Linked DNA regions of Homo sapiens: regions 1 and 3 are each linked to region 2. Evidence: promoter capture Hi-C in human tissues and cell types (Jung and others, 2019). All regions are on one chromosome and are shown on one strand. Each heading gives the region's core, a stretch centred on a gene start or on the middle of the fragment in contact. The rest is flanking DNA. Distances are from core to core; before and after follow the strand shown. Region 1 overlaps CMSS1 (cms1 ribosomal small subunit homolog). Region 2 holds the start of NIT2 (nitrilase family member 2). Region 3 overlaps CMSS1 (cms1 ribosomal small subunit homolog).

Region 1 (3,656 bases), core at 802-3,301, 430 kb after region 2:
TATAGATTTTAGTTGCTTTAAATAAATCACTTTCATAGATTTTTTTCCTCTTTAATCTATCAATTTATCATCTAAATTTCAGACTATCTTCACATGGAAGTTACCCCATTACCATTCTGTCTGTGTAACCTCCAAATTCTGTTAAACCTTTTCCATGACAGGCAACTAGAATAGTAGAAAGCATAACATGGATATGCCTGATTTTTAATAAAAAATAAGATCACACTATTGATTTAGTGTGAATCTCTTCCTGACAAGCATTTTGTTGACTTGTTAATCTTTTTGGTTGTCCAGTGTCTACTGGTAACAATGGACTATAATCCAAGGTTTCTTCCCTGGATCAAAACTATAGTTTTCAGATATAGTTTGAATTACTACCCTTCACACCATTTCCTCAGAATGAGCTGACAGCTAGATACCCTTATATATCAAGATAACTTCCTATTACCATGCCATAGAATCAGAAGGTATTTCATTTTCACTACCTTTTTTCATGTCCTCCCATGGAAATGCATCTGAGAAACTGCTTCTTGTAAAACATGAGCAAATGAGAATGAGTTGAATATCTGTTCAATTCAGTTCAATTCAACAGATATCTATTCAGCACTGACTCTTTCCCAGGTGCTGGGTGTAATAGAAACTGTTATGAGTAACCTCATACTTTTGGTTGTCAAGAGACCATGCCCCCAAATTCCTACTCAAAAAAATGTCACATGGTACTAAGAATGTCTCGAATACTAAGAGTCAGTTACACTAATTTTATTGTCCTCCACAAATGTCTAATATAACATCATGAATATTTCTATTACTTAGGAGGTCAGTGAAAGCAAGCCAATCATTTAAATATTTTGTCTCTAAAAAATAAAACATAGTTGGCTTAACACTGATTCTTGTAAGACCTCATATATTACTGGCAGATTATAGGAAATTAATGAAAAAAACACTCTGTGTTTTGTTTTGTTTATTGGCATCATTATCAGCAACACATATTTTGTGTACCTACTACACAAAAAACATTATGCTGAGCTCTACTAGGGACAAGGCAGGTGGTACCACTCACAAAAAAATCAAATGTATAAATCTTAAAAATGTGTGTGTATGTGTGTGTGTTGAGACTCTTCCTAACCTAGCTGGAATCTGTGCTATTTATCAACAAGATAATGCAGAGAAAAATACCTTACCCATTACTTACATCCCGTCCAGAGTTAATAAAGGAAAAATCACTTGGCTGAGAGTAGAGTTACACAACTTGATTATGCAAAGAGACTGAACTTTGACTATTTAGCTTTAGAATACACATCGCTGATATTTAAGCAGTGTAAACTATGTAATATTATTGTCAGCACAAATCATAGGCCTTGATGTACAGTGAGCTTTCCCGACGAACATCTGGCTAATAGCCAAGCAAAAGTACATAATTTGAAACACTCAATCAGTTTCATTCTGAGGCATTTTGTTCAGTGTTTAATAGCTTCTCCAGGGACAGGAAAATTACAAAAGTGCATTGTTTTGACATGAGCTAAAATGAGTCATCGCTTGTCACTACATTTTTGAGGATTTGGCATTAATCTTCTGAGACAACAAACCATAAACATTAGAAATAAATATCAATTTTCCTAAACAGTTTAGTAAAGGGAGACTACTCTTCTCATTGGAGCAATTAAGTTGGCATCTCTAAAGGAAGGTACTATCCTATTTCAACGTGTAGCCATTTTGTTTTTCTAAACAACACTTTCCTGAAGATTTGTAATGACCATCTAAGACCCAATCCTTAAAGCAATACTAAAGCTTACTTGATTTGTATTAAATAACAAGTTAAAAGAATGTTGTATACAGTTTAATCCTTTGGTAAATTCCACACCAAATGTTATCCAGTATTTCCACCCAGTATTCCCTGCCTGCCTTCATAATTATCAATAAGAAGCAAAGCAAACTGGCTTGAGTTTCAACTCCTGGATTCTCCAGGGTCCAGATCCTACTACCATCATGCCCCTTCCCCTCAGGCATACTCTAGGGCCTAGGCCAATTTCATTTTCCTTTAGATCAGTGCTTCTAACACTTTGCTACATGTAAGAATCACCAGAGAAGCTTTTAAAAAACCTGATAACCGGGGCACATCAATTAGGTCAGAATCTCTGAGGCTGAAACAGCAACTGTGCTAAAAGCTCACACCAGGTAGTTCCAACGTGCAGCTCAGTTTGAGTATCAGCACTTAAGACTTGCGTGGAAAAGAAGAAAGAGGGAAGATTACACAATGATCAGCCCATTTGGTACTTTATGGAAGTTCTGATGAATATTAAGTGTGTGAAGAAATGGTTGGAACAAATAACTTTTATGAAATTACACCTTAGTTATAACATAGGGCTAAAGGTATGGCATTTGGGGCCAAACTTCCTTGGTTTGAAATCTTGTCTATGGCCATACCACCCTGAACGCACTCTATCTCATCTGAAATCTGGTTATTTATGACCTCTTAGAGACTCAGTTTCTTCATCTATTCAATGGGGATAACCCTTATAGGGCTGCTGTAAAGATTAAATGAATTAATTTATATCAATATAAAGGGTTAAAAATAGTGTTTAACATACAAGAAGCACCAGGTATGTGTTAGTTGTTATTAATATCCTCATCATCACCATCTTTGTTTTTTGCACCTCATCAATGTAGATGAGTTGAATATTCTGTCTCAAACTCAAGGAGGTTGAGTGGTTTTGACTTCCATCCTGTAGTCATAAATTTTACTAATGATATCACCATTATATATAATATTTTTAATTTTTAAATTAATTCATCCAATACATATTTACTGAATACCTGCTATGTGTGAAACACTGTTCTAGATATGTATTACATACTAACTTTTCAAATCGCTTTCACATACATTTATATTTATTTCATCCTAAAGTCCTGACAAGTTGGTTCTGACCTCAGAATTATACGATTTCAAAGATCCAGTAGAACCAGAACACCGTATTTAGCACCTTAGGAATGTACTAGTAACAGCTAACTAGTTAAGCCCTACTCTAAGCACTTAAAGTTTGTAACTCATTTAAATATAACAACCCTATGAGGAAGGTACTCTCACCATTCCCATTTTACAGATGAGAAAACGGTGGCACAGAGAAGTTATGCAATTCAACATGCAAACCCAGGGAGTCTGGTTCATCACCCTGGGAGTTAATGTGCATTAAGAAAAGATGCCCTGAAGGTGGACCATAATGGAATCACAATCAAGGAGGTGGGAGTCCAAAGCATCTATCATAACAATTTCAGGAACAGTGTACTTTATGTCAGATTCCTAGTACTTTGTCCTAGAAATAGTTTGCTGAAGAATGCAATAGGGGTTAGGAAACTGCTAGAAAAAAGCAACAACAGCAATCACAACAGCTACCATTTAGATCTCACAAAAAAACTAAATCCTTTATATACAATAACTTGTTTAGTTGTGTCATTAATATAATTCATGGAAAACTTTGTAAAAAGATTTAGGTAGAATAATTTCCAATATGATCTTAAAATATGAGATTTCCATTTTTAACTCTAGTGCATTAGTTATGCTCATTAAGGCTAAAGGAATGCATCATAATAAGAAATGACCAAAACACCCATAAAGTGTAATAACTTGGTATTGGAAACCAAAAATCTGCTTTTGAAAA
Region 2 (3,426 bases), core at 1-2,500:
GGCAAACAGATATTTTGAGCTGTTATCAGAACAGCAGATAAATCCACTAAACGTCTCCCCTCCATTTCCCAGCGTTAAGCCATTCTCCCTCCTCAGCTTCCCAAGTAGTTTGGGACTAAAGGGGCGTGCCACCACACCGGGCTAATTTTGTATTTTTTAGTACAGACAAGGTGTCGCCATGTTGCCCAGGCTGGTCTCCAACTCTTGACTCGTGAACTCAAGCGATCCTCGTGCCTCAGCTTCCCAAACTGTTGGGATTACAGGCGTGAGCCACGTGCCGGGCCATGTCTGTGCTTCCGAGGGTGGGAAAGATAAAGCTCACCATGGCTACGCTGATGGCTTCCTCTCCTACACATCTCACCCACAAGGGCGGGGTCCTCAACTAAGCTTAGGACTGCCTATCATTCTGCAAATGACCCACTCTACAGACATGCTGCAGCAGGGAAACCCCGCCACTGGGCAGTTCCTCATGCTGAGGAGGAGACGCCCGTCACTCCATCTCATCTGTAAAGTGAAGACTTTTAAGGCTGCCCTAATATTCATCATAATCTAACAACGAAGACCTTACCAAGGGGCGGAAAAAAAGAATAAAATACTGTGAGCGAAGGAAACAACAAAGGAATAACATTTAAAGCAATGTGCCAGGTCCTTCACACATTAACATCATTGTGTGAGGTATCATTAACATCATTTTACAAATAAAGAAACAGGGGACTTGCAGGGGGAAAGCTGCACAAAGTCACTGAACAAAGTAAGTGACACAGCAAGAATCCAAGTCAAAATCTGGAGCTGGAAAGTGAGTGGGGAGACGAAGAACCGCCTGGGCACCTTTGTGCAGGGCGGGGCTGGAGGAGGTCACGCAACTTGAAAACACCCAAGGGAGTTGGATCCTACCACCGCGGCCCACACCGTGGAGAAATACACGTCCATCAGCCTCTGTCAAGCAGGACGCGGCGGGTGCCGGCGCGGCCGGGTGGCCTGGTGCTTTCTGGGCCTCGCCCGCCACCCCGGAAGCCTGGAATCCCGGGAGTGCGCCCGGCCGCCCGGCCACGCGATCCCGGACCCACGCGGACGCCCGCCTCAGGGAAGGCCGCGCACGGCGGGGACGCGGGGCGGAGGGGCTGAGCCGGCCGAGCCACCGCCGGCGCCGCTCCAAAGCCTCCCCCGCGGCCCGAACTCGAGCTGCAGCGCGCGGCCGCGCCACTTACAGGTCATGACTCTGCAGACAAGCACCACCTGCGGCGCGGACTGAGCGCTGGAGATCCGGCGGACCGCGGCGTCGCTACGGTGGGGCGGGGACCGCGTCAGAGGCCCCGCCCCACCCCTCCTCCTGGCCCCGGCCGGGAGGAGAGAAGGGTCTGCGTTCATTCCAGTGCGCCTGTAACACCAGGACGGACCAACGAGAAATGGTTAATTGCAACACAGTCCGGAAAAAGCATGCCTCGAAAGGCAAAGGGCAAAAGGGAACGGCCTAAGTCGAGGTGGTGTGCTGGTGAATGTCTTAACAACCAGACTTTTCAGGGAGGAAAGCCCTGATTTGTAGCGTTTGCTGATTCTCCGCAAAAGGACTGAACTTCTAGCTGGTTGAATCACCTCTGTGGCCAGGTTAACACCGTATGCTGATGGGCTTGAGCTATTTGAACAAGTCTCTGTGACGGGGACGGAATGACCCTGGTTGGTTTAGGCACGCGAGACGTCTGTAAAATCTGACTACAAGGCTGCTAGGCCAACGGGAAAGATGCTGAGGGTTCAACGCCATGCCCTCAACAAGTCAGTCCTCGAATACATTGTCATCTCTTTGCTAATATCCTTTTTTGTTTGTTTGTTTTAGACAGGGTCTCACTCTGTCATCCAGTCAGGAGTGCAGTGCAGCAGTCTCAGCCCATTGCAGCCTCAACCTCCCGGCTCAAGCGATCCTCCGTCCTCAGCCTCCCAAGTAGCTGGGACTACAGGCACACACCACCACACCTAGCTATTTCTTTTCCTTTTTTCTTTTTCTTTCTTTCTTTCTTTTTTTTTTTTTTTTAAGTTTTTTACTTTTAATAGAGGTGGGGCCTTGCTATTTTGCCCAGGCTGGTCTCAAACTCCTGAGCTCAAGACCCTACTGCCTTAGCCTCCCAAAGTGCTGGAATTATAGGCGTGAGCTGCTGCGCCCAGCCTATAGACTATGATTTTTGCATTTTTATTTATTAGATTGCTTTTTAATTTTCGTGTTTTGTGTTTTTGTGCCTTGTCAGACTTGTGGAACAAAAATCCAAAACTTAACCACCTTTTGGAATGCCCCAGAATAGTTTATACTGAAACAGATCTTGGTTTGTAAAAGAACACTATAAAAACATTTTGGGGGCAACTAGGGAGATTTAAATATGAACGAGATATTTGATGCTTTTCTGAATTATTTTGTGTGCTATAGTGTTGTGCTTGTGACAATTCTTTACTCTTAGAAAATGAGGAAGTATTAGGGATGAACCATCAGAATGTTTGACTTGAAAATCGTCAGCAAAAAGAAAACACATAAGATAAAGCAAATATGGCAAAATGTTAATTATTAAATCTAGGAGGAGGACACAGCTGTTCATGGTACTAGATTAAAACTTTGTAGAAGTTTAAAATTTTAAGCTTTCATAAAAAAAAATTGGGGGGAAATACATAGCAGTTATGGTCTTTCTGCAGCTTAAGAGACTATCTGGACTTGGCTTTGTAGCAGGAAGATCTTTAAAAACCTTTTCATTTCTGCTATGCTTATTAACCTATGAGGTTTCAGGGTCAACCTGTGGTCACTTACAACCTGTTAAAAAAATTCATCTAGATTTCCAAATTTATTGGACTAACATTGTAACTAATAGTGGTCCTAAACCTGGCTGGAAATGTTATTTGAAGTGCTTGTTCAAAATGCAAATTATTTCATTTTTTTAGAAGTGGATTCTTACAGTGTTGCCCAGGCTGGTCTCAAACTCCTAGGCTCAAGTGATCCTCCCACTTTGGCTTCAAAAAGTGCTGGCCTTATAGGCATGAGCCATGGCATCCAGGTGGAGATGCCCAGTAGGCAACCGGACCAAAGCCTCAAGCTCAGAAGATGTCTGGGCTGGAAATTGACTTGGGAGTCACCAGCAGTTTTAACTAAGAGGAAGCTCTGAATTTGGATGAGAACACACAAGCGGAGTATGAAAGGCACACGCAAAAGAAGAAGGGCCTGTGGAGCCTGGGAAGGAGCCATTAGAGGAGAAGGACCAGGCCGGGCGCCACTGCCTGGTGGAGGAACAGCTGTGTCCTCCTCCTAGATTTAATAATTAACATAATCCCAGCACTTCAGGAGGTGGAGGCAGGTGGATCAAGAGGTCAGGAGCTCGAGACCAGCCTGACCAGCATGGTGAAACCCCGTCTCTACTAAAAATGCAAAAATTAGCTGGGCGTGGTGGCACACAC
Region 3 (3,544 bases), core at 496-2,995, 260 kb after region 2:
ACACAGCTTACTATAGCCTCTACCTCCTGGGCTCAAGTGATCCTCCTGTCTCAGCCTCCCAGTAGCGGGACCACAGACATGCACAGCCATGCTTGGCTAATTTTTTTATTTCTTGTAGAGACAGGGTCTTGCCATGTTGCCCAGGCTGGTCTTGAACTACTAGGCTCAATTCATTGTCCCACCTCACTGTGATTATAGGTGTGAGCCACTGGGCAAAGCCAATTCCTTATTATTTTTACTGAATTTATCTCATTCTGTACTGTTTTACTATGTTAATTCTTGTGGGGATGAAGGCTATCTTGCAATTCCTCTACCTGGAATGTTACTCTTCTCCCCTCTCCATTTCCTTAAATCCTCCTTATCTTAAATACACACTGCCTTGCATTAACTTTTTGTGCTATAAAATCCAGCCATGGCTTAATAGCTAACCACCTTTTTTGTTTAACTACTCTTATTTTTAAACTGGTTGCTGTCCTGAAACACTCTCAGTGAAGTACAAACATACTTGCTTCTCAGATTGTAAGAGAAAGAAATGACTTTGGCTGTTGCCTGAGTCTACTTCTTAAGAACACCATGCATCACTGATTGGGAGCTCACAGGATAACGGCAGATAGAGAGTTTCTGCATGATGGTGTGTTCCCATTTGCTTGGAACCTACGAGCAACATGTGAAAGTATGCAGTTCCTAAGTTCTTTGCATGTCAAGTACAAGCTATCCAAGCATCCACTCTTCTTTCAAAGGACGCTAAATGCAAAACACAGCTGTCTGTGACCTTGGGAGACCTAACCGGAATCTGCAAACAAGCTTATGTAAGCGTACCCTGGCCAGCCTTGTTCCGAAAGCCCTCTCTAATTAAATGAGAGTTTTGATTTCTTATGTGGAACAGTAAAGGGTCTTCTGGGAAGAGACATCTCTTGCAGGAACTGTAATTTGAAAAGTAATTTTTGTCTCTATTGCATCCTTAACTACACAGGACATAATAGTGGGCAAGAAATGATAGCAGAGCTGTAAATACTGAGTAAGTCTGACTAATTCCCAGGCTGCACAAAAGATCTTATTAAACAACTTTATTAATGACCTGGAAATCTGAGAAGACGTTACATTAATAAGTTCCTCACATGGCACTAAAGGTGGAGATGGTAGAAGAAACAGAGGTGAAGTCAAACAATATTCATGGATCCCTGGAGATCAGAAAAATGAACAGTAAAGTACACAGTGAGTTCAGTCTGGCAAAATACAATTAAGTACAAGTATCCAGGAAAAAATAACTCAGAAGACTGACATTCAGTGGGGATGAAACCTCGAAAGCATGTCAAAAGCAACCAGATAGATACTGTAACCCACAGATTAGATAGGATTTTGCAATATAACAGAAATAGCAAAGCATAAAGTAGATGTGAAGCTGTCCATCAGAGGGGCTCAGCACATGCTGACAATGATAAAAGAAAAAGAAGGGTGTTGGGCGGGTGGTGAGTAAAAACAGCTCAGTTATTAAGTCCAAAAGTGTAAGCACCTGGACTTTGGCTTTAAACATTCTTTCAGAAAGATGAAAAGCATCTGAGAGGCCTTTAGAGAGGGAAAAATATATTTACAGAGATAAGCATATGATGAGAGATTAAAGGAATGAAACAGACAAGCCTCCACTGAGCAGTGACAAAAAGAGGTACTTAACTCTGATCAAAATTATTGTTTACATTTTTAAGGGTTTTCCGGGCAAGATAACTAACAAATATATTTCTTAATTATACATATGGCAGATGAAACAGTGAGTTTCCAGGAAGCATCAGCCCTGCCCAAAGCCATGTAGTTGAAAGAAGACTCAGAATCACAGAATTTTAGGCAGGAAATGATCTTAGAAATTACATAGTTTTGTGTCTTCAAAGTGAGGTCTGAGGGCCTATTGCCTGGAGAGCTTATCAGAAATGAAGATTTCTAGGCTCCAACTCAGCTCTCCTGAATCGAATCCTAATACCCCAGAAGGATTAGCTCAAGAAGCTTGTAGAGTTTAAGATAAGTTTATAGATAAGAAAAGTCAAGCTCAGAGATAAATTGCCCCAGGTCAGTCATCAATAGGTCCTGGTTTCAGGTCCAACGATGTTACTATCACTGTGGGATGAAATTCTCCCCAAATCTATAAATTGCCTTTATAATTAGTTATTACCATGTTGTGTAATTTTTCCGAGAATTTATATTATAGATGTTGCTTCATTTAATTCTTGTGTAATAAGGAAAAGAAGATAAAAGAAAACAGAGTCTGCCATCAGTGGGTATAGGAGACAGTTAAAAAAAAAAAAAGAAAAAGAAAAGAGAAGACAAAGATTGGGATATGAAGTAAAAAGCAAAAACCCGAAGCTTCGAATAAAGCTTTGAAGGTAAGAGAACTTATAAAAATGCAAGAGATGTTTAAAGAACAAATTATGGTCTTCCTAACCTCTAAGCTTCCTAAAATAAAAGTGGAATCTCTGCTCGTTATCATAAGCCCTTCTCTCCTGTAGGGTAAAGGACACGAGGATGAGAACCAGACTGTGGGTTGTCTCTGTATCCATTTCTGTGGCAGCAACTAGCATGCTCTAGATTGTTCTCTTGTGTCATTAGAAGTCCATTATTTGAAAGGTAATCATATTGCATTGATATATCTTCTTTTAGCAAAAGCTGACCAGGAAGTGTTTCAGGTTGATCATTTCTGGTTTTGACGATCTCTATCTAATGTAATCCTTGTAGGGAGAATCTGGGTTTGACCCCAGGATAAACCAAAACAAAGGGAACTAACATAGACCAATAAAATATATCCTAAAAAAATATAAGCAATTAAAATAGCTTTATACAAACAAAGGTTTATAAAAAATCATTATTATAAAAGAAAATCAGGCCGGGCATGTTGGCTCATGCCTGTAATCCCAGCACTTTGGGAGGATAAGGCTGGTGGATCACTTGAGGTCAGGAGTTCGAGACCAGCCTGGCCAACACGGCGAAACCCTGTCTCTATTAAAAAGACAAAAATTAGCCAGGAGTGGTGGTGCGCACCTGTAATCCAAGCTACTCTGGAAGCTGAGGTAAGAGAATCGCTTGAACCCAGTAGGCAGAGGTTGCAGTGAGCCAAGATCGTGCCATTGTACTCTAGCCTGGACAACAGAGTGAGACTTCGTCTCAAAAAAAAAAAAAAAAAAAAAAAAAAAAAAAAAAAATCAAATGTTGCACATGCATAGAAAATAAGATTAAAAGAAACATTGGGAACCAAACTTCAACAGAAAGATGTATTTCTCAAGCATAGTTTTTACTAGTTTTTAGATAAATAAGAAAGCTTATTTTATTATAATTTTGCCAAACATACTGGCTATAGAATAAATTTGCAAAATGATTTCTGGAACATGATAAGAGATCCACAGAGAAAAATGTAGCAGAAAGATGGGTATTCAAGTTACATTTTAGAGTAGAAAAGGCCTCTGGAAAACAGATTTCAAAGAACAAGTTAATACAAGGGAAGAAAGCCTCTGATTTTTAATAAAGCCACAACATTGACATCTTGTCTGTTCCCAGAGTGTAG

Evidence for each region. The method cuts DNA at HindIII sites, captures the fragments that hold promoters and counts their contacts. A contact is called where the count stands out against the background at its distance.
Region 1: a contact is called between a fragment that was not itself captured here and the fragment with the promoter of NIT2 in region 2, in 2 of the 25 tissues and cell types used here (IMR-90 fibroblasts and aorta).
Region 3: a contact is called between a fragment that was not itself captured here and the fragment with the promoter of NIT2 in region 2, in 2 of the 25 tissues and cell types used here (lymphoblastoid cells and thymus).

The regions. Positions count from the first base shown.
Region 1 is chr3:99,899,270-99,902,925 of GRCh38, reverse strand. All of the region lies in intron 1 of CMSS1 (cms1 ribosomal small subunit homolog), which reads right to left. The region is part of intron 4 of FILIP1L (filamin A interacting protein 1 like); the gene reads left to right. All of the region lies in intron 1 of LOC105374010 (a long non-coding RNA gene), which reads right to left. Among named protein-coding and RNA genes, the nearest start is that of MIR3921, 63 kb to the left of the region's middle. The HindIII fragment of the contact is 3,066 bases long and covers 519-3,584 here.
Region 2 is chr3:100,332,581-100,336,006 of GRCh38, reverse strand. NIT2 (nitrilase family member 2) reads right to left here and starts at 1,250. Exons shown (of 10, transcript NM_020202.5): 1 at 1,209-1,250. The coding sequence starts at 1,215. RefSeq lists silencers at 228-522, 921-1,250 and enhancers at 491-570, 691-750, 771-820, 914-1,482. The HindIII fragment of the contact is 4,697 bases long and covers 1-3,426 here.
Region 3 is chr3:100,074,317-100,077,860 of GRCh38, reverse strand. The region is part of intron 1 of CMSS1 (cms1 ribosomal small subunit homolog); the gene reads right to left. The region is part of intron 1 of FILIP1L (filamin A interacting protein 1 like); the gene reads left to right. Among named protein-coding and RNA genes, the nearest start is that of FILIP1L, 38 kb to the left of the region's middle. RefSeq lists an enhancer at 3,314-3,544. The HindIII fragment of the contact is 3,831 bases long and covers 1-3,544 here.